5 separate regions of the Homo sapiens genome follow, and all the other regions are linked to region 1. Evidence: promoter capture Hi-C in 16 types of primary human blood cells and fetal thymus (Javierre and others, 2016). All regions are on one chromosome and are shown on one strand. The core of a region is centred on a gene start or on the middle of the fragment in contact, and the rest is flanking DNA. Distances in the headings are between cores, read along the strand shown.

The links. The method cuts DNA at HindIII sites, captures the fragments that hold promoters and counts their contacts. A CHiCAGO score of 5 or more calls a contact.
Region 2: a fragment that was not itself captured here is called in contact with the fragment with the promoter of KPNA5 in region 1 in 2 of 17 cell types (non-activated CD4 T cells and total CD8 T cells); the score reaches 11.5 in non-activated CD4 T cells.
Region 3: a contact is called between a fragment that was not itself captured here and the fragment with the promoter of KPNA5 in region 1, in 5 of 17 cell types (total CD4 T cells, total CD8 T cells, naive CD8 T cells and 2 more). The highest score is 13.8, in total CD4 T cells.
Region 4: a contact is called between a fragment that was not itself captured here and the fragment with the promoter of KPNA5 in region 1, in 1 of 17 cell types (total CD4 T cells). The highest score is 6.6, in total CD4 T cells.
Region 5: a fragment that was not itself captured here is called in contact with the fragment with the promoter of KPNA5 in region 1 in 8 of 17 cell types (total CD8 T cells, total CD4 T cells, non-activated CD4 T cells and 5 more); the score reaches 14.1 in total CD8 T cells.

What each region holds. Positions count from the first base shown.
Region 1 is chr6:116,679,267-116,682,908 of GRCh38, forward strand. It overlaps KPNA5 (karyopherin subunit alpha 5), which reads left to right and starts at 1,945. Exons shown (of 14, transcript NM_001366306.2): 1 at 1,945-2,072. The coding sequence starts at 2,069. RefSeq lists enhancers at 1,542-2,525, 2,526-3,507. The HindIII fragment of the contact is 1,991 bases long and covers 1,461-3,451 here.
Region 2 is chr6:122,476,145-122,479,520 of GRCh38, forward strand. It overlaps a transcript of PKIB not described here. Among named protein-coding and RNA genes, the nearest start is that of SERINC1, 6.0 kb to the left of the region's middle. The HindIII fragment of the contact is 248 bases long and covers 1,819-2,066 here.
Region 3 is chr6:122,459,643-122,463,416 of GRCh38, forward strand. The region is part of intron 1 of SERINC1 (serine incorporator 1); the gene reads right to left. Among named protein-coding and RNA genes, the nearest start is that of SERINC1, 10 kb to the right of the region's middle. The HindIII fragment of the contact is 9,444 bases long and covers 1-3,774 here.
Region 4 is chr6:111,478,076-111,481,775 of GRCh38, forward strand. All of the region lies in intron 1 of REV3L (REV3 like, DNA directed polymerase zeta catalytic subunit), which reads right to left. Among named protein-coding and RNA genes, the nearest start is that of REV3L, 3.3 kb to the right of the region's middle. RefSeq lists an enhancer at 567-1,291. The HindIII fragment of the contact is 2,284 bases long and covers 696-2,979 here.
Region 5 is chr6:122,400,891-122,404,494 of GRCh38, forward strand. All of the region lies in intron 1 of HSF2 (heat shock transcription factor 2), which reads left to right. Among named protein-coding and RNA genes, the nearest start is that of HSF2, 3.0 kb to the left of the region's middle. The HindIII fragment of the contact is 1,052 bases long and covers 1,056-2,107 here.

The DNA of each region.
Region 1 (3,642 bases), core at 695-3,194:
TTAGTCACAGAAGATTGGAGGTCCACGCAAGATACAGGTCACAAAGACCCTGCTGATAAACAGGATGTCGTAAAGAAGACAGGCCAAACCCACCAAAACCAAGATGAAGACAAAAGTGACCTCTGGTCATCCTCACTTCTCATTATACGTGAATTATAATGCATTAGCATGCTAAAAGACACTCCCACCAGCACCATGACAGTTTACAAATGCCATGGCAACATCCAGAAGTCATACAGTCTAAAAGAGGGTAGAACCCTAAGTTCCAAAAATTGCCTGCCCCCTTCCTTGAAAACTCATGAATAATCCACCCCTTGTTTAACATATAATTAAGAAATAACTGGCTGGGCGCGGTGGCTCACGCCTGTAATCCCAGCACTTTGGGAGGCCGAGCCAGGAGGATCACCAGGTCAGTAGATTGAGACCATCCTGGCTAACACGGTGAAACCCTGTCTCTACTAAAAATACAATAAATTTCCAGCTACTCGGGAGGCTGAGGCAGGAGAATGGCGTGAACCCGGGAGGCGGAGCTTGCAGTGAGCCGAGATGGCGCCACTGCACTCCAGCCTGGGCGACAGAGCAAGACTCCGTGTCAAAACAAACAAACAACACACAAAAAAACTATATACTCAGTCCAGCAGCCCAAGCCACTGCTCTGCCTATGGAGTAGCCATTCTTTTGTTTCTTTACTTCTTTAATAAACTTGCTTTCACTTCACTATATGGACTCATGATTGGCAACGCTTTCTGGTAACACTGCCCAGGTTTCCTTTGTCAAGCGTGCCTTTCTCAGCCCTACATACCCACAGTTAAATAATCCCTTCTCTCCTGTTTATTTTTCAACTATTGAAAATAGCAAACATCTTAAAACAATTTGTCTTCATGTTTTTCCTCTTAAAAAATTGCAAACGTCTTCTGGGCAGGATTTATGTATTGTTTATCTTATTTATTCTCTTCCTATTGCATCTGGAACACAGTCTGTTTTCAATACCGTTTGTTGAACTCCAGGGTAGATTACAGGGCTGTGTATTATAATCTACAGTACTTTAACTGAAGTTACTCGTTTATTGGTGACTACATTGCTGTCAAAAATACACTCATGTGGCTGGGTGTGGTGGCTCATGCCTGTAATCCCAACACTTTGGGAGGCTGAGGCGGGCGGATCAGGAGGTCAAGAGATCAAGACCATCCTGGCCAACACGGTGAAACCTGGTCTCTACTAAAAATACAAAAATTAGCTGGGCGTGGTGGCGCATGCCTGTAGTCCCAGCTACTTGGGAGGCTGAGGCAGGAGAATCGCTTGAACCTGGGAGGCGGAGGTTGCAGTGAGCCGAGATCGCATCACTGCACTCCAGCCTGGTGACAGCGCCAGACTCCGTCTCAAAAAAAACCCCCCAAAAACAGAAAAACAAAAACAAAAAACCGCAGATGTTATAGAATATAAAATTATAAATGACAAAAAGCTTGAAATAAAACGAGCAGAGCATATAAAAGTTAATGAAGCTGAAGAAAACGTGAGCTTCTCCGTACACTTAACAAGGCTGCGATTTTTACCAACTTTTTTGCACTGTTGTAGCCCCAATAATGTATCTAAAATGGTACTTGACACAGTTTATATCCTTAAGAATGTATGCATGCACGCACGCGTGAAGAATGAATGAATGAGGGGTCGTCCCTTTGCACACACGGAGGTCTACGGGCCGCAGAGTACCTACAGCATGGCCACCGCAAGCGCAACTAAAATCCAGGGCTTGTCGCAGGCACAGGCTCCTCCTTCGGTGGGTGGGACGGCGGCGCGCACTTTCTCTACGCCCCACTGCTAGGATGTGCGGCCACCACTCCTCCTCCGCCGCCGCCGCCGCCGCCGCCGCCGCCGCCGCGTCGAGTGCAAGGGCTTCTGGGAGCCGAGCCTCGGGGTCTCGGAGAAGGGGCGCAGGTGGCCGCCATCTTGGATTGCGAACTGGGTCGCTACGCTTCACGCCAGGGGCGGAGTGGCGGCCCTTCTGTTACCCGCCACACACGTCGCCGCTGGGGACTGGGAAATCAGGGCATCGGAGAGTGCCACATTAATGGGTAAGTTGGAGTGAACACGGGCTAGGTTGGGGGAGCCTCGGTTTTGGTCCCTTTGGGAACTACTAGTTCCTGGGGCCACGGTTTTTATTTACCCCTTACTTTGCGAAGGTCTCTGGAACCTGGCGGTGCCGGGTGTTTCTCGTGTTTTCCCCAGGGCGACAGCGGTCGCGGGGGCGTGGCAGCCGGACCTTTCCCTTGCGGACGCGAAGGCGTGGTGAGTTCAGATTCTTTCAGCAGGTCCTCTGGAGTGATGGGCAGCTGGTCTCATCTTCGCCGCCCCGCCTCACCGTTTCTCGGTAGTTCTTTTCAGTTAATGGAATTGCCAAACGTTGCCACTCATACCTGGTACCCATCAGCTGTGTCCAGCAGCTTATGGAAATTCCACAGTGTCCAAAGAAGAGACAGGTTCCATCCCGAGGGCCTCCTAGCCTCGCCCTCTCCATCCGCCAGCCTCCCTCCTCCACCTGCGTGCAGGTGCCTCTAGTGCTCATTCCCGACGACAAGGCAAGCCTGGGTTCCACGCTTCTAATAGTCGGGCAGCTCCGTTCTAAGATGAAAACTTAGGTTTTCATCGATAATACATAGGAGATGGAAGTATTTGAAAGCTGTGAAATGACAGTGATATGTCTAAAGAATATGACATTGGCGGCGGGCGCGGTGGCTCACGCCTGTAATCCCAGCACTTTGGGAGGCGGAGGCGGGCGGATCACGAGGTCAGGAGATCGAGACCATCCTGGCTAACACGGTGAAACCTCGTCTCTACCAAAAATACAAAAAATACAAAATAAAATACAAAATAATAAATACAAAAAAAATACCAAAAATACAAAAAAAGGAAAAATTAGCCTGGCATGGTGGTGGGCGCCTGTAGTCCCAGCGACTCGGGAGGCTGAAGCAGGAGAACGGTGTGAACCCGGGCGGCGGAGCTTGCAGTGAGCCGAGAGCGCCATTGCACTCCAGCCCGGGCGACAGAGCGAGACTCTGTCTCAAAAAACAAACAAAAGAATATGACACTGGCATTTACTTTTGAGCTTTTTAGACATGTTTTTTAAAAAAGACAAAAACACTAATGATTTATCTCTCAATTACAACACCCAATAATGATGACTCATATTCTGTACAAAAGTGGTTTTCTTGGTAGGTCAGGAGCAACTCTCTCCCTCCGACCTAAGTACTGCTTGTTTGGTTGTGAGGGCTCTCTAGTTGGCACTTCCCCCGCTTTGTGCAGTCTTTTACTTTCACTAATGAGGCGCCCAGCCCCATGGAAATGAAGGCTTTACTGGCATAAGAAATAATGTCGATTGATATTAAAGAAAATCATAAGTTCAGATTCCAGTTATTTGCCCAACTTAAACATGGTTTTTCTAAGAGCCGTTGAAAGCTTATGAATGAAAAAAATTCCTCTATTCTGTAACTTTAAAGTGCTGGAATAACATTTCTAAATAAAAATATTTAATTTTTATGAGACCTCAGCCTTTGAAGTGCAGCCTTTAAATTTATTTTTCAGTGAACGAAACAATCCCATTGGATGGGGCCCCTTTAGAGATAATTTCCCTTGGTTTATTGTCCC
Region 2 (3,376 bases), core at 693-3,192, 5.8 Mb after region 1:
AGTAGTTAAAGGATGAATAAAATTTGTGCATAGTTTGTTATATAATCCAAGGAGAGCAAAAATATAAAAAGTATTTTATGGCTTTTATCCTAAATTAGTTATATCTTAAATGTAAACATGTTTAAGTATTTCACAGATATTCTGAAAGGATAAGCCAAAAATAGATTAGGACACAGTAACCCATAGGGGTCAGTATAAACTTAGAATTGGAAGAGACCATATTCTGATTAAAGACATGCTTTTATCTGTTAAGACACACATTGATAGTTTTGGAAAATAATTCAAAACTAAGATACAGTGTCAAATGTACAAAAACTCTCTTCAATTATGGTCTTAATGTTAAAACAGCAAATGAACAATATTCTTTCCACACAGATTTTCTTATTTTGCTGAAATCTAAGCCTATAATTCCATAACAAGCAGATATGTTTATACCAGTGAAATAGATGTCTACAAAAATAAGTTTATTTCAGGCAGAACATACATAAATTCAGGAAAAAAGGAAATATTCACTGTGTAAATAATAAAGTGGATAGCAAATTCAAATATGTGTCTAATATTTAATGTACTATTTTATAATCATTGAGAAGGGAGTGACTTCTTGAAAAAGTGTAAATGACATTTCTAAAACATTTCACTTTTCAAGGGCAGATGTATTGACCTTGATAAAATAATGAAATTATATACTGAAGAAATTCTTCACATTCATTCACCCAAAACGTTATTTATTTGTGCTACAGAAAGGAATCAACTAGTTCGATTTGGCACTCATCAGATTTTTGAATTCTTATTAAACATGTTATTAAGGCAACGTCTAAATCAGCACCTTCCAATAGAAATGAAATGTGAATCACATTTGTAATTTAAAATTTTTTGTAGATGTATTAAAAGAAACGGATGAAATTAATTTTAAAGATGCATTTAATTGAACTCTATATCCAAAATATTTCAATGACATTAATATAAAAATTCTTAATAGAATGTTTTACATTATTTTTCATATAAGTCTTCAGAATCTGGTTGTGTTATATAATTAAGAGCACATCTCCATTTGGACCAGCATATTTCAAATGTCCAGTAGTCCCTATATTGGACAATGCAGGTCTGTAAGCTGAAGGAGAAAGTCGAGGCAATTATCCAGGTGATACAAGCTAAACAAGGAAGCAATCATATTTTTCTTTGTATAAGTTATTTAGATATTTCAGATAAAGTGGTTTTAAGCCTGTGCATTTGCTTTAGGTATTGAACCTAAATTGATTTCTTATATAAAAATCAGATATGAGAGATTTGTAAGAAGGATAAATGTTATATTCTGATAATCATTTAGGCTATCAAAGTACTATACTATATGATACTATATGAAATTTGCCAGATTTGACTTTATTTTCCAGTAATCCATATATTCCATTATGTTATTTTAGCCAATTTATCCTGATTTCTTTTTTATTCACCTGAATTTCTATGGCCTTAGCTGCTTTCTTTCCTCCAGAATTAATTGTAAGAATAGAATGATATCCAGAGGCCCTGACATTTTAAGTGGCCTGATCTCAAGCGACTTCAGACAGTGATTTTTTCTTCTTACCCAATTCTCTACACCTCACTCCACTGACTGTATTGTCCATTATTGCGTAAAACACTTTGGCAAATTCATACCTAAAGCTCTTTCTACTGAGTGATTAAGAACTTTGGGTACTTTTTCCTCACAGTTTTTACCCTGTTGAAGATTTGCTTTAACTTCAAAAGTGATGACAAGAAAGTATGGACACCCCTTCAGGACCAACCTGATAAGTCACTGGTAAGGTCTTAATTTCTCCATAAAGCTTCCTAATATTTTCTAGTATTAAGGTCTTCATATCCCGTAACCCGCTTTGCATCACCTGCAGAAATCCTAGGCTTAGCTGTTTGGTAGCATCTGGCTGTGTCATTTGTTCTATTATTTTTCGCAGGCTCCCACCTAGAGTCCTGTTATAGTGAAGGCTGGCTTCCACTAGTTTCCATTATTGCTTATGGGTCTGTCCCTTTCCTCCAGAAAAGTCCTATCTTTTTAAAGATGTAATGTCAGATGAAGCTTATGAGCCAACCACAGGCCATTTTTTTAATCGACATCTCCTGAAGGAAATTTTCTGCCTTAGCTGGCCTGACTTACTTGTATTTTGTGGCAGAATCCAGTCTTTCTAGGAATCATCCAGTTTTAAAAATCATCTCAGTGGTTGTAGAGCTGACAGCAGAATTCTCTCTACCTATTTTCTCCGCCATGGAGAAAGCATTCCCAGCATCATTTATACAAATGCTATGCACATTTCCACTTCCCAGCAATACTCATCCAGCAGTTTAGATGCCATGGGAGGGTACTCCATAGTTCAGTTCTATGGTATGCTTTGATACGGGCATGGCTGGACACTGCACATTGTTCAGCAATTCCAAATGGTAGTCTTTAGTAAGAGAAAAAACATAATTAGAGTCACTTAACATATTATGTGGCAGCGGGGGGTGGGGAAATATCCTTTAAGAAGTAGCTTTCACATACAAATGGAGTCCAAAATAGTGAACTTTTCCCATTGGATATTTATATGAATACAACCATGGATTAAATGCCAATAGGAGAAAGTGTTTTAGAGACATGCTTAAAATCTGGAGAAAGAAAACAAAAAACAAAAAAAACTCCTGCAGCCAGCTCAGTGTCTGCCCAAACAGCCACCCAGTTTTGTGCTTGAAACCCAGGGCCCTGGTGGCGTAGGCACTGGAGGGAATCTCCTGGTCAGTGGGTTGTGAAGACCGTGGGAAAAGCATAGTATCTGGGCTAGAATGCACCATTCTTCATGGCACAGTCCCTCACGGCTTCCCTTGGCTACCAGAGGGAGTTCCTCGACCCCTTGCACTTCCCGGGTGAGGTGATGCCCCACCCTGCTTCTGCTTGCCCTTCGTGGCTGCACCCACTGTCTAATCAGTCCCGATGAGATGAGCTGGGTACCTCAGTTGGAAATGGAGAAATCACCCACCTTCTACATTGAACTTGCTGAATGCTGCAGAGAGCTGTTCCTATTGGGCCATCTTGACTAATTGCAAGAATATTTTTAAGAGCCTTTCCAGGGCTTCTTGCTTTCTCTAGGCAGACTCTCAGAAGCTCTGTCCCAGACACATTAAAGCAGTAATAAGCAACTTAATATCTTAATCCTGCCCTGAGAAAGGTACTTCATACTTTATAGAGTTTTGAGGCACTAAGAATCAACAAAGGGGAAAAAAGTTCCTTATCCTAATTGAGTGGCCTAGGAAACAACATGTAGTATTATGACTATGTGTTTTAATTCTGTCAATTAGAACTCAAAATTTTCTTTTTAGTCAGATCAGTTCTATAGTTTTGATAAATATCACAAAA
Region 3 (3,774 bases), core at 292-2,791, 5.8 Mb after region 1:
GAAGAATTCAGTCTGAAATAAATATAATCCAGTAAGAAAAGGAAATCCCCTACCAGTATTTCATTTGAGCTACAGAAAAATAAAAAATATTTTTTGTTAAAAAAGGAGACCTCAAAAATGAAGTAAGAACAGAACACAATGGAAAGTGGAAATCAAAGGGCTAAAGAAATGAGAAGGGAAAAAACGGACTTAACTAGTAACTATCAAGAAACAAAACAGACATAGGTAAACATAAAATTACTGATGAAAAAAGGCTTGGGATAATTACTATAAATTCAGGTCAAGATGGAGAAACCATGACCAGACTTATCCTCCTGACTTAAACAATGGAAAAAATAAGTTTTTCAGACAATGAACAACAGGCAATGTAAAGCCAGCAATTTCTAAGAGGAGACAATGTGAGCCCTATGACTGGCCCTTATTTTATTGATTAATTGATTGATTTACACAGTCTCCTTCTGTCACCCAGGCTGGAGTGCAGTGGTGCGATCTCAGCTCACTGCAACCTTCCCCCACCCACTCCGGGTTCAAGGGATTTTCCTGCCTCAGCCTCCTGAGTAGCTGGGATTGCAGGCGTGCACCACCACACCCGGCTAATTTTTGTATTTTTTTGTAGTTTTAGTAGACAGGGTTTCACCATGTTGGCCAGGCTGGTCTCCTGACCTCAGGTGATCCGCCTACCTCGGCCTCCCAAAGTGCTGGGATTACAGGTGTGGCCCACCGCGCCCAGCCAAGTGGCCCTTATTTCTGCCTAGGGAGAATGTTCACTGCAGGGAGGGTCTGAGAATTTTACCACCCAGAGGTGAAAAACTTTGTAATCCATGAGGCATTGGGTAAAGATATCAGAAGGCAATTAATACTGGAGAAAAATCAGCCATCAAACTAAAGGCTGCACTAGTTGCACTTAACGAAACCTAAAGGCAAATAAAAAGATCACACTGTCTCTAAGTAAAATCACCCAAGTCAAAGATAAAAGCCCAAGAATATTTTTTTGAAAATAAAAGTATATCCAGCGCTGATCAAGGAAAAATTTACACTGGAAAGCTAACAAAAAATTAGCAGGCATGCAAAAACCAGAAAAATACAACCTATAATGAGGATCAATCAGTCAATATCAACCTGGAAATGATATAGATAACTGAGTTCATTTATAAATAGGGCATTGTAGTATTACTGTTAAGTATATATCACATGCTCAAGGAAGTAGAGGAAAACTTGATAATGTTACGGACAGACATGGAAGATAATTTAAAATTAAGACCCATATCATACTTCTCCAGATGATAAAATAAGCCCCCTAAATATTGACAAGACAGAAGAAAAGATTAATAATGAACCTGAAGACATAAGAAAATAAATGATCCAAAATGAAAGAGAGATAAAAATAAGAAAAGGATCAGAACATTGTGAGACAACTTTAAATAGCCTAATATAAGTGAAATTAGAGTCCCTGAAATGAACTTCAATTGGAGAGAAGTGACACAAAGGTGCTTCTGAGGAAGTAATTGCCCAAATTTTTCCAAATTTATGAAAACGATAAACTCACAGATCCAGGAAACTCAACAAAGCCCTAGCAAAATAAACATGAAAACCACACCAAGTCACATCATAATCAAATTACTTAAAAAAGTAATAATCAGAAAAATCTTAAAAGTAGGCAGAAAAATAAAATGTACATTATAAACTGAGGAACAAAGAAATAAATCACACTTCTAGTAAGAAACGGTTCAAGCCTAAAATCAGTACCGAAAGAAAAAAATATGTAAACATAGAATTTTGTACGCATATTCTCACTGATAGGTGTGAATTGAACAGTGAGATCACATGGACACAGGAAGGGGAATATCATACTCTGGGGACTGTGGTGGGGTTGGGGGAGGGGGGAGGGATAGCATTGGGAGATATACCTAATGCTAGATGACGAGTTAGTGGGTGCAGCGCACCAGCATGGCACATGTATACATATGTAACTAACCTGCACAATGTGCACATGTACCCTAAAACTTAAAGTATAATAAAAAAAAAAAAGAATTTTATACTCAGTGAAAATATCTTCCAAAAATTAAGGCAAAATAAAGACATTTTCAGGAATAGAAAAGACAAAATAATCCAAACAAGCAGAATTAAACTACCAGAAATGTTGAAGGAAATCCTCCAAGAAAGAAAATTATACCAGAGAGAAATTTGGATTTGCATACAAAGGAATATGAAAGAGACATATTCTTCTTATTTAAAAAAATGGGCCAGAATTACAGAGACTAAATCCAAAGACATCATAAGAAAATAATAGACCGATATCCCTCATAAACATACACAAAAAAATTCTTAATGATATTTTAGCAAGTCAAAAACAGCAATATGAAAGTATATAAAAAGGATAATATATTGCCACCAGGTAGAGTTTAGCCTGGAAAAGCAAGGCTGGTTCCACTTTTAAAAATCAACCAATGACCTCTACTGTATAAACAGACTAAAGAAAAAAAACAAGGTCATCTCAATAGATACAGAAAAACCATTTGACAAAATTCAATACCTATTCATGATATAAACTGTCAGCAAAGAATAGAAGATAACATCCTTAACTTGATAAATGGCATTTACAAATACCTATAGCTCTCACCCATAATTAATGACGAAAGTCTGAATGCTTTCCCTGTAAGACATCAAACAAGGCAAAATACCTCTCTCACCATTTGAATTCAACTTCACACTGGAGGTCCCAGCCAATATAATGAGGCAAGAAAGAAAATAAAACATAAAAATTGGAATGGAAGACACGAAACTGCCCTCTTCACATATAACACAACTGTCTATATAGAAAATCCCAAAGAGGGCCATACACCATGGCTCACACCTGTAATCCCAGCAATTTGGGAAGCTGAGGCAGGAGGACCATTTGAGCCTAGGAGTTCAAGGAGTTCAATGATAGCGCCACTGCACTCGAGTCTGGATGACAACAAAACAAAACAAATAAAAACAATAAAAATACCCCACAAAGAACCTACAAAAATGCAACTAGAACTAACTCATCGGTTTAATAAGGTCACATGATAAAAAGTCAATATACACAATCATGTTTCTACGTATTAGTAATAACTGAAAACAAAAAGAAAATAGTTATAAATCTAACAAAACATAGACAAGATCTCAAATAATGAAAACTACAAAACATTGGTGAAAGAAATCAAAGACCTAAATGAATGGCAAAATATACAGAGTTCATAGTTGGAAGACAATTATTTTCAAGATATCAGGTCTTTCCAAACTTATCTATAGATTCAGCCCAATTCCAATCACAATCCCAACATCAGATTTACAGAAATAAACTAGCTGAACAGGCAAAAAACACCAGAATAGCTCAAACAAGTCTGAAAAAAGAACAAAGTTAAAAGACACACTACCTGATTTCAAGACTAGCATTAAAGTGACAGTAATTAAAACAGAGTGATATAGGGAAAAGGGTGGACACACTAAGTAGAACACAATAAAGTTCAGAAATAGATTCATGCAAATATAATCAAAGGATTTTTGACAAAGATACCAAAGCAATTCACTATGGAAAGGATAATCTTTTTAACAGATGTTGCTGAAATAATTGGATATTCATACATTTTTTAGAAAGTTAACCTTAAGCCATAATCAAACCATATATGAGAATTAAGATTTCCTAGATACCATATAAAAAACAGGACTCACAAAAGAAAAACAAATGAATTGGGCTTCATCAAAATTAAGAACTTTTGCTCTTTGAAACACACTGCTGAGAATGAAAAA
Region 4 (3,700 bases), core at 588-3,087, 5.2 Mb before region 1:
GTCTTCATCTGTCAATTACCTTGTAGCTGTTCCTCTATCTGAAATTTTAAGTTCCTTAAAAATTCCTTTAACATGACTAATCCATATTTCCTTCACGAAGTCTTCCCTGACTCCCCTTTTTGCCTGGATATAGAACATGTCTCCCAATGAATCCTTGCTTTGTCTTATACACATTTCTATAGTCCAGTCATACTGCATTTGACTTACGTTTACATGCCCATCATCTCTACTACATTGTGAGCTTCTGGAGAGTAAAGCTGTTCTTAAGGCACTTAAAGCTAAAACAACTTGCTACTCAGGGCTTCAAATACCTACTTTAAAAAAAGTGACCAATTTGTTTGTGATGAGTCATTACATCTCCATAGCGTTCCTGAAAATCTCTCCAATAATTGTAATCAAATAGGTGTTATATGATCTTAAAATATTTTTAAATAGCTTAGTAAAAAACAGACTATGAACAAAGCAGATTCTATTAGAGAAACTTTTGAACCTGAGTTGTTGATACACGCTAATTTTCAAAATTATTCTTATTGCAAATTTAACTCCAATTTACCAAAAAAAAAAAAAAAGGTTATTCTGGTAGTTTCTTATATTTAATTTTATAAAATATAAACAATGAGAATATATTTATAATTGGATAAGCATCTACATAAACTTATATAGCATTTCAGAATTATCAATTCCTTATGTTGAAAAGCTTGATTTCATGGCTAACAGTATCTAGAACAATCTACCAAAATATTCACTAAGCTAGAGGAAGTGGCAGAGTTCCTTAGAGTAATCTTAAAGACAAGCAGCTCCCTCTATAGTCTGTCTGGCCTACTTTGTTTAATTCCTTGCTTTGTGGACATCCCACACTCTTCTATTTACTCCTACTCTGCATCTCAGCAGGGAAGCTCTTTGAAAGGATAGTTCTGTTTAACCTGGTGCTGAGGAAACTGTGAGAGCTGTCTAAACTCAGCATGAAGTGAGTTACATCAAGCAACTAAGCAAAAGTCGAGATGTGGAAAATGGACAGCTTCCCAAGTCCACCTCAGTCAAATCCTTAAATGAAGCCTGATGATTTCATTTGTAGTGAATCCTCTGAGTGGTCACACCTATATTCAAATCTAAATGAAAAAACATTGTCCTATACTTTATTCACAACCTTTCTTCCCTCCATTAAAACAAGTTACCAAAATGTTGTTCTAAAAGAAAAAATTAACAATTTATTCTACAAATGATACTGCTCAATTTGATTATGTCAAAATAATGTTCAAGACATTTTAAAAACTAGTTAAAAAAATGGAGAGGAAATTTGTTTTTGTTTTTTAAAAAATTCCATAACTCAGATGAAGAAACTTTAAGTGATTCCCTTAGGAATCAATATCCTCAGTTGGCAAGGGATTAAATCAGTCAGGATTTACCATTCAAATCTGAATATCCCCCCCCGCCTTTTTTTTTTTTTTTTTTAAGACAGGCTCTTGCTCTGTTGCCCAGGCTGGAGTGCAGTGGCGTGATCTTGGCTCACTGCAGCCTCAACCTTCTGGGCTGAAGCGATTCTCCTGTCTCAGCTTTCCAAATAGCTAGTACTACAGGTGCACACCACCACGCCCAGCCAATTTTGTTTGTTTGTTTGTTTGTTTTGTACAGACTATGTCGCCCAGGCTGGTCTCCAACTCCTGGGTTCAAGCGATCCTCCTGCCTCTGTCTTCCAAAGTGTTGGGATTACAGGCATGAGCCACAGCACCCAGCCCTGAATATCCCTCTTTTTAAAAATACCTTTTCAAATTTCACCAACTTAAGACATGGGAGCTTTTAAACCCAAAACACTTTATTTCTTAAATTACTCAAGATACGTCCTCAAAACACAGAACAATCAAAAGTCAACTGGACTGTTTTCTAAAGCAGAAAAATGCTTTTCAGGCAATAATAGAAAAACTAAACTAGTAAAAGGGTATTAATCCAATCAGTTCAGAATTTGTAATATAATTTTGAAACGGCCACTTCATTTGAGAAAAAATATCTTTGGTTGCTATTTTTCAGGATCTCATTTGTAAAGCAAAGTCAATTTTAAAACATTTTCTCTCCAAACCAAAGTAAAGCATTAAGGACCTCCCAAAGTAATTCTTATATATGAAAAAAGTATGTTTATGCTATTTTATGTAGCATAGGTTTATCATGTGTTACACATTTTTATTACCTTATTTTACTTGTTAGTAAAGATATAAACTATAAAGATATAATACAAACCATGTTTATATCTTTGCATTATGTTTACATCTTTACTTTCAAATAAATCTGTCTTCATTAAAAATTCTAGCATTCAGAGTTTTACTAAGTCAGACTGGCCTCTCTTTTATATTAATAATTTTCAAGTTTTATTTTATTGGACTAGTTTTCCTTGGGGAGATAATTCAAAAGCAGGTAATTCTGCAGTTTTTGATTATGTTTAATTAATATTAATCTCACTGGGAGTTTCTGACGTGCTAATAAAAATGCTGGCTTGGTTTATGAAAAGTGTAAACTCTAAATGTATGCCAATGACTTCAAATTTTTTCTTGTTGAAACAAACATTTTGTTGGAAACTGTGAACTACATGGCAAATTCAATTTGATAATCCTTAACAATTTAAAATTTGACTTTCTCTGTATCAAGTTTTATGTCTTTCAATGTACATATAAAAAGTGTTACTTTTTAATTCATTTAAAATATAAATTTCAAAGTATGTACCAAAAAAAAAACCCCAATGGGGGTTTTTAGTCTTTGGTTTTTTCGTTTTTGTTTTTTTTTTTTTTTTTAAGGTGCTGGTAATCTATTGTGGGATGTCCATGAAGGATTAAATAGGAAATAGTTAATGTGTCTTTTAAAAAATATTCAGGAAAACAACAGTATATAATATTCTTTATTTTTTAAGGAACATTTCCTCACGTAATAGAATTACATTAGCTTACAGTGAAACTCATTTATTTCCACAAACGAAACTTTCCTATACAACAAAGCTTGACTATCTCTCAGGAAAACATATTTAATGACTTGTGTGGAGGAGAAAAAATTATGTGTGGAAAAGTAACTCAAACCATACAAGCTGTAATACACAGAAATGCCACAGTATATCCTATTAGCATGTCACTTTATGATTCGGAAATTTGGCTGAACAGGGCCATATCAACTTCACTATTTTATCCTTCCTCTGCATCTGAAGTGAGAACAGTGCATTACACTGAAATTCCAATTGGAAACAAAGACAGCACCACTATATTTAAAAGGGCAGAAAACCTATCTTATAGAACACTTCATCGCCTCGATTTCCCAGCCTCCAAAGTTTCAAGTGTTACACTTTCAACACGTTAAAAGCACTCAAATTCCCCATCTTTCAAGGTTCATATCAAAATCATATTCACTAGTTTAAATAGGAATATGCTACCAAATCTCACAACATTGACATTTTAACAAAGAGAATTCACATTAAAAGATAACTGCTTTAAAATGAGTGCTTGTGTTTGGGAAAGCGCTATTATCTTGGTAGTCCACAGAAACTGACTGTAGTAATAAGATGAATGGTGATGAGGGCAAGGAGCATCAAGTGGGAAATGCTATCTAAAATCCCATAGGGCAATTCATAGCTAGAGGGAAGAACAACCTTTCCTAAGATGCATTATTTCCTAGAACTCCATTATTTCATGGAAGCAGTTCAAAGCATGCAAAAAAGCAAAACCAT
Region 5 (3,604 bases), core at 332-2,831, 5.7 Mb after region 1:
GCACCTGTTAAGTGCTGAGTAAATGTTATCTCCCGTCCTCCTTTCTTTCCTGTTCTCCTATTATAGGAACTCTTAGTTTTATTTACTTTTGTCTTAACAGGGAGTGAGCACCATATTAAGACCCTGAAGTTTTGACTTCTGTAATACCATAGTTTGCCTTGTGTTATTATTTGTTCTTTTTTCCGACTTCCTTCTAGGATTTAATTTTTGTGTGTTCTTTATGAGCAACTGAGTTATCCTTTTAGCCCCACTCCCTGCTTGGAGTTGAGTAGGGGGGCGTGAGTGTTTCTATTAAGCATTTAATGAATTCTGTACAATTGTACAAAGCTAGGTGAAAATAAGAAAGCCAGCCACTAGCATGTACTTAAAATAAACACATGTCTCATGCTTTTCATCAGTTAGAAGGATTAAAAGTTGACAAGAAGGATCAGTACAGACTGTTACTCAGACACGTATTCGTGTTAGAGATTGGACTGAGATTCTCTCCCCACGAAAGCTGACTTTATCATACCTTTTTGTCTTTTATGGGCCAGAAATAGGGGCTATATATATTGGCAGTTGCTTTTAATCAGAGTATCATGTCAGTGGTAGGCCTATTAAATTCTGATTAGCAACAGTGTTTTAATAACATTCTTATTTTCTGAGTACTGTCAAATGTGGAGAGTTTCGTACTGATCCGTAAATGCATCATTCTATGAGTTCTAAGCCAAATAAACAAGCCACTTAACCATTTTTTAATCCCATTATTAACTTTAAGCTTATGTGTTAACCAATTTTCTAATATGCCAGTGGGACAATCAAAATGTAAGCTCAGTGAGATCACTGTGCCAGAGACACACTAGGTGTTTAATAATTGTTTGATGAATAAATGAGATCCCTCGAAAATGTAATGGAGTGGTAGGAATGATGAAGATAAAATTATATTTGAAATGACTCTTAGAGATCATCTAGGTTAGCCTTATCATTGTATAGATGAGGATTTGAGGCTTGGACAGGTGAGATTATTTATCCATAATTATACAGCTCGCCAAGATTGGAGATAAGACCCTAACATAAGCTTGTCCAACCCGAGGCTCACATGTGGCCAAGGATGGGTTTGAATGCGGCCCAGCACAAATTCATAAAGTTTCTTAAAGAAACATGAGATATTTTTGCAATTTTGCTTTTAAGCTCATCAGCTATCATTAGTGTTAGTGTATTTTATGTGTGGCCCAAGACAATTCTTCTTCCAGTGTGGCCCAGGAAAACCAAAAGATTGGACACCCCTACCCTAATAGATTTCTGAGCTCCCAGATCAGTCTTCCACCAATAGAACTAGACTTAATGCAAGTTGACATCATATTTAGTTTTATACCAAAATGTTGCTTGCCACAAGTCAATGGACAATTCTGAATAAATGTTGTCTAGGGCTAAGCCTAGTTGCTTAGGCAGCTGTCTCATTTGTGCTCTCCATGGATTTTTCTAAAAGCAGTGCTAATACTGAAAAGTAAAACTTTAACAATAATGTTAGGTGGAAAAACCAAAATAAGTTACTTTCATCTTTCTCTTTTCTTTGATGAATAAATGAAACCCTAGAAAATGTAATGAGAGTGGTAGGAATGATGATATAATAGTCCTCAACAGGCTTTGAATTTCCAAGTGGCAGAGACTATATCACACTATATCATATTCGTTTTTTTTTTTTGTGGTAGAGTATCACTCTGTCACCCTGGAGTACGGTGGCACGATCTCGGCTCACTGCAGCCTCTGCCTCCTGGGCTCAAACGATTCTTCTGCCTCAGCGTCTCGAGTAGTTGTGATTACAGATGCGCACCACCATGCCTGGCTAATTTTTGTATTTTTAGTAGAGACAGTGTTTCACCATGTTGGCCAGGCAGTCTCAAACTCCTGACCTCAAGTGATCCACCCGTCTCGGCCTCCCAAAGTGTTGAGATTACAGGTGTGAGCCACCGGCGCCCAGGTACTCTCATCTTTTGAAAGTTGCTATTTATGGTGGTTTCTGGTTTCCTTCAAACTTGTGTTGTATTTCTGTTGAGGTAATTTAGCATTTATACTATGAAAATCATTGAGAACTTTTAGAAGAAGCAGTTGTTTTGGGAACCAGACAAGCTTTTGTGCAGTTTTTTTTTTCAATGGTGGAAAATAATTTATTTCTCTACCTTGAGTGTAAGGCAAGGGAAAAAAAACTCTTACCAATTGCGTTTTGGAAAACGCAGTTGGTAATATCTCTAGATAATATCTCTGGAGACGTACATAACTTTAATTTTCCTCGAAATTTGCAATATGACAAAATTGAAAAGGGAAATAATACCTCTCACCATTAAATACAAGAATATAATAATCTGAACAATTGAAATTATACTTAAATATGTTATTGACTCTAAAATAATAGAAATGCCTTAATTCCAGACAGTCTTTAAGAAAGCATAATGTGGCTAGGCGTGGTGGCTCATGCCTGTAATCCCAGCACTTTGGGAGGCCAAGATGGGCAGGTTGCTTGAGCCCAGGAGTTTGAGACCAGCCTGGGCAACATGGTGAAACCCTGTCTCTACAAAAAAATACAGAAAGTAGCCAGGTATGGTGGCGTGCATCTTTAGTCCCAGCTACTCAGGAGGCTGAAGAGGGGAGATGGCTTGAGCCCATGAGGCAGAGGTTGCAATGAGCTGAGATCACACTACTGCAAGCCAGCCTGAACAACAGAACGAAATCCTGTCTCAAAACAACAACAACAAAAAACAGAAAGAAAAGAAAGTATGTTTTACATATTTCCATTTTCTCCTTACTCTTCTGAAAAACAAAAATGAAAAGTTTTCATTTTTTTTAACATTTCCTTTAAATGTAAAATTTTATATAACTGTTCTTGGCTTTGGTAGTCTGTTGTCAGAATCAAGTACAGAGATTGTACTGTCAGACGACCTAAAACTGTTTTAAATCTTAAGTGTCCTAAAGAGAGGGCACATATTAGCTTGGAAGCAACTGGTGAAACTTGATATTCAGAGACAAGGCCGTAGAGGTTAAATGAAGTTATATAGTAAAAAACAGCCTTTACGAGTTAATGAAATGTTACAACCAACGTATGCTGAAGTGAAGCAGTATAAAAGAAGGAAAGAACTGGAAGGTCATCCTTTTGTCAGTGTTGTTACCTTTGTCTCTGTTCTTCAGATTGTTTGAGAAAATGAAGTGATTTCCACCAAAGACTTCATACCCAGCTTTCCCCCCTTTTTGTGCCCTTTGGCATTCTCTGCTTCTCTATCCCCCTCATGTCAGCAGAGATGAATTAGGAAATAGGTAGGAGGGAGAGAGAGCAAAAACAGAATTTTTCCATTGTTTTCTAGCTGTTTTGGATGAATTTGAGCAGTAGGCCCTTGGACTTCACAAAGTGCTAGTATTGTTTTGAACATCCCAGCAACCATTGCATTATATTAGTATTTCAAAGTGAAAATAAGAAAGACTACAAGTGTGGGAGGATGGGGGTAAAATCCAACTTAGATGGACCTGCAGAAAAGTTGAAAGATTGATTTTCAAGTATTTTTATTTGTATATATAAGAGAAAGAATGAGCTAAAGACTCTAAAAGAGTAGCTGGTGCATATTAAAAATTATAG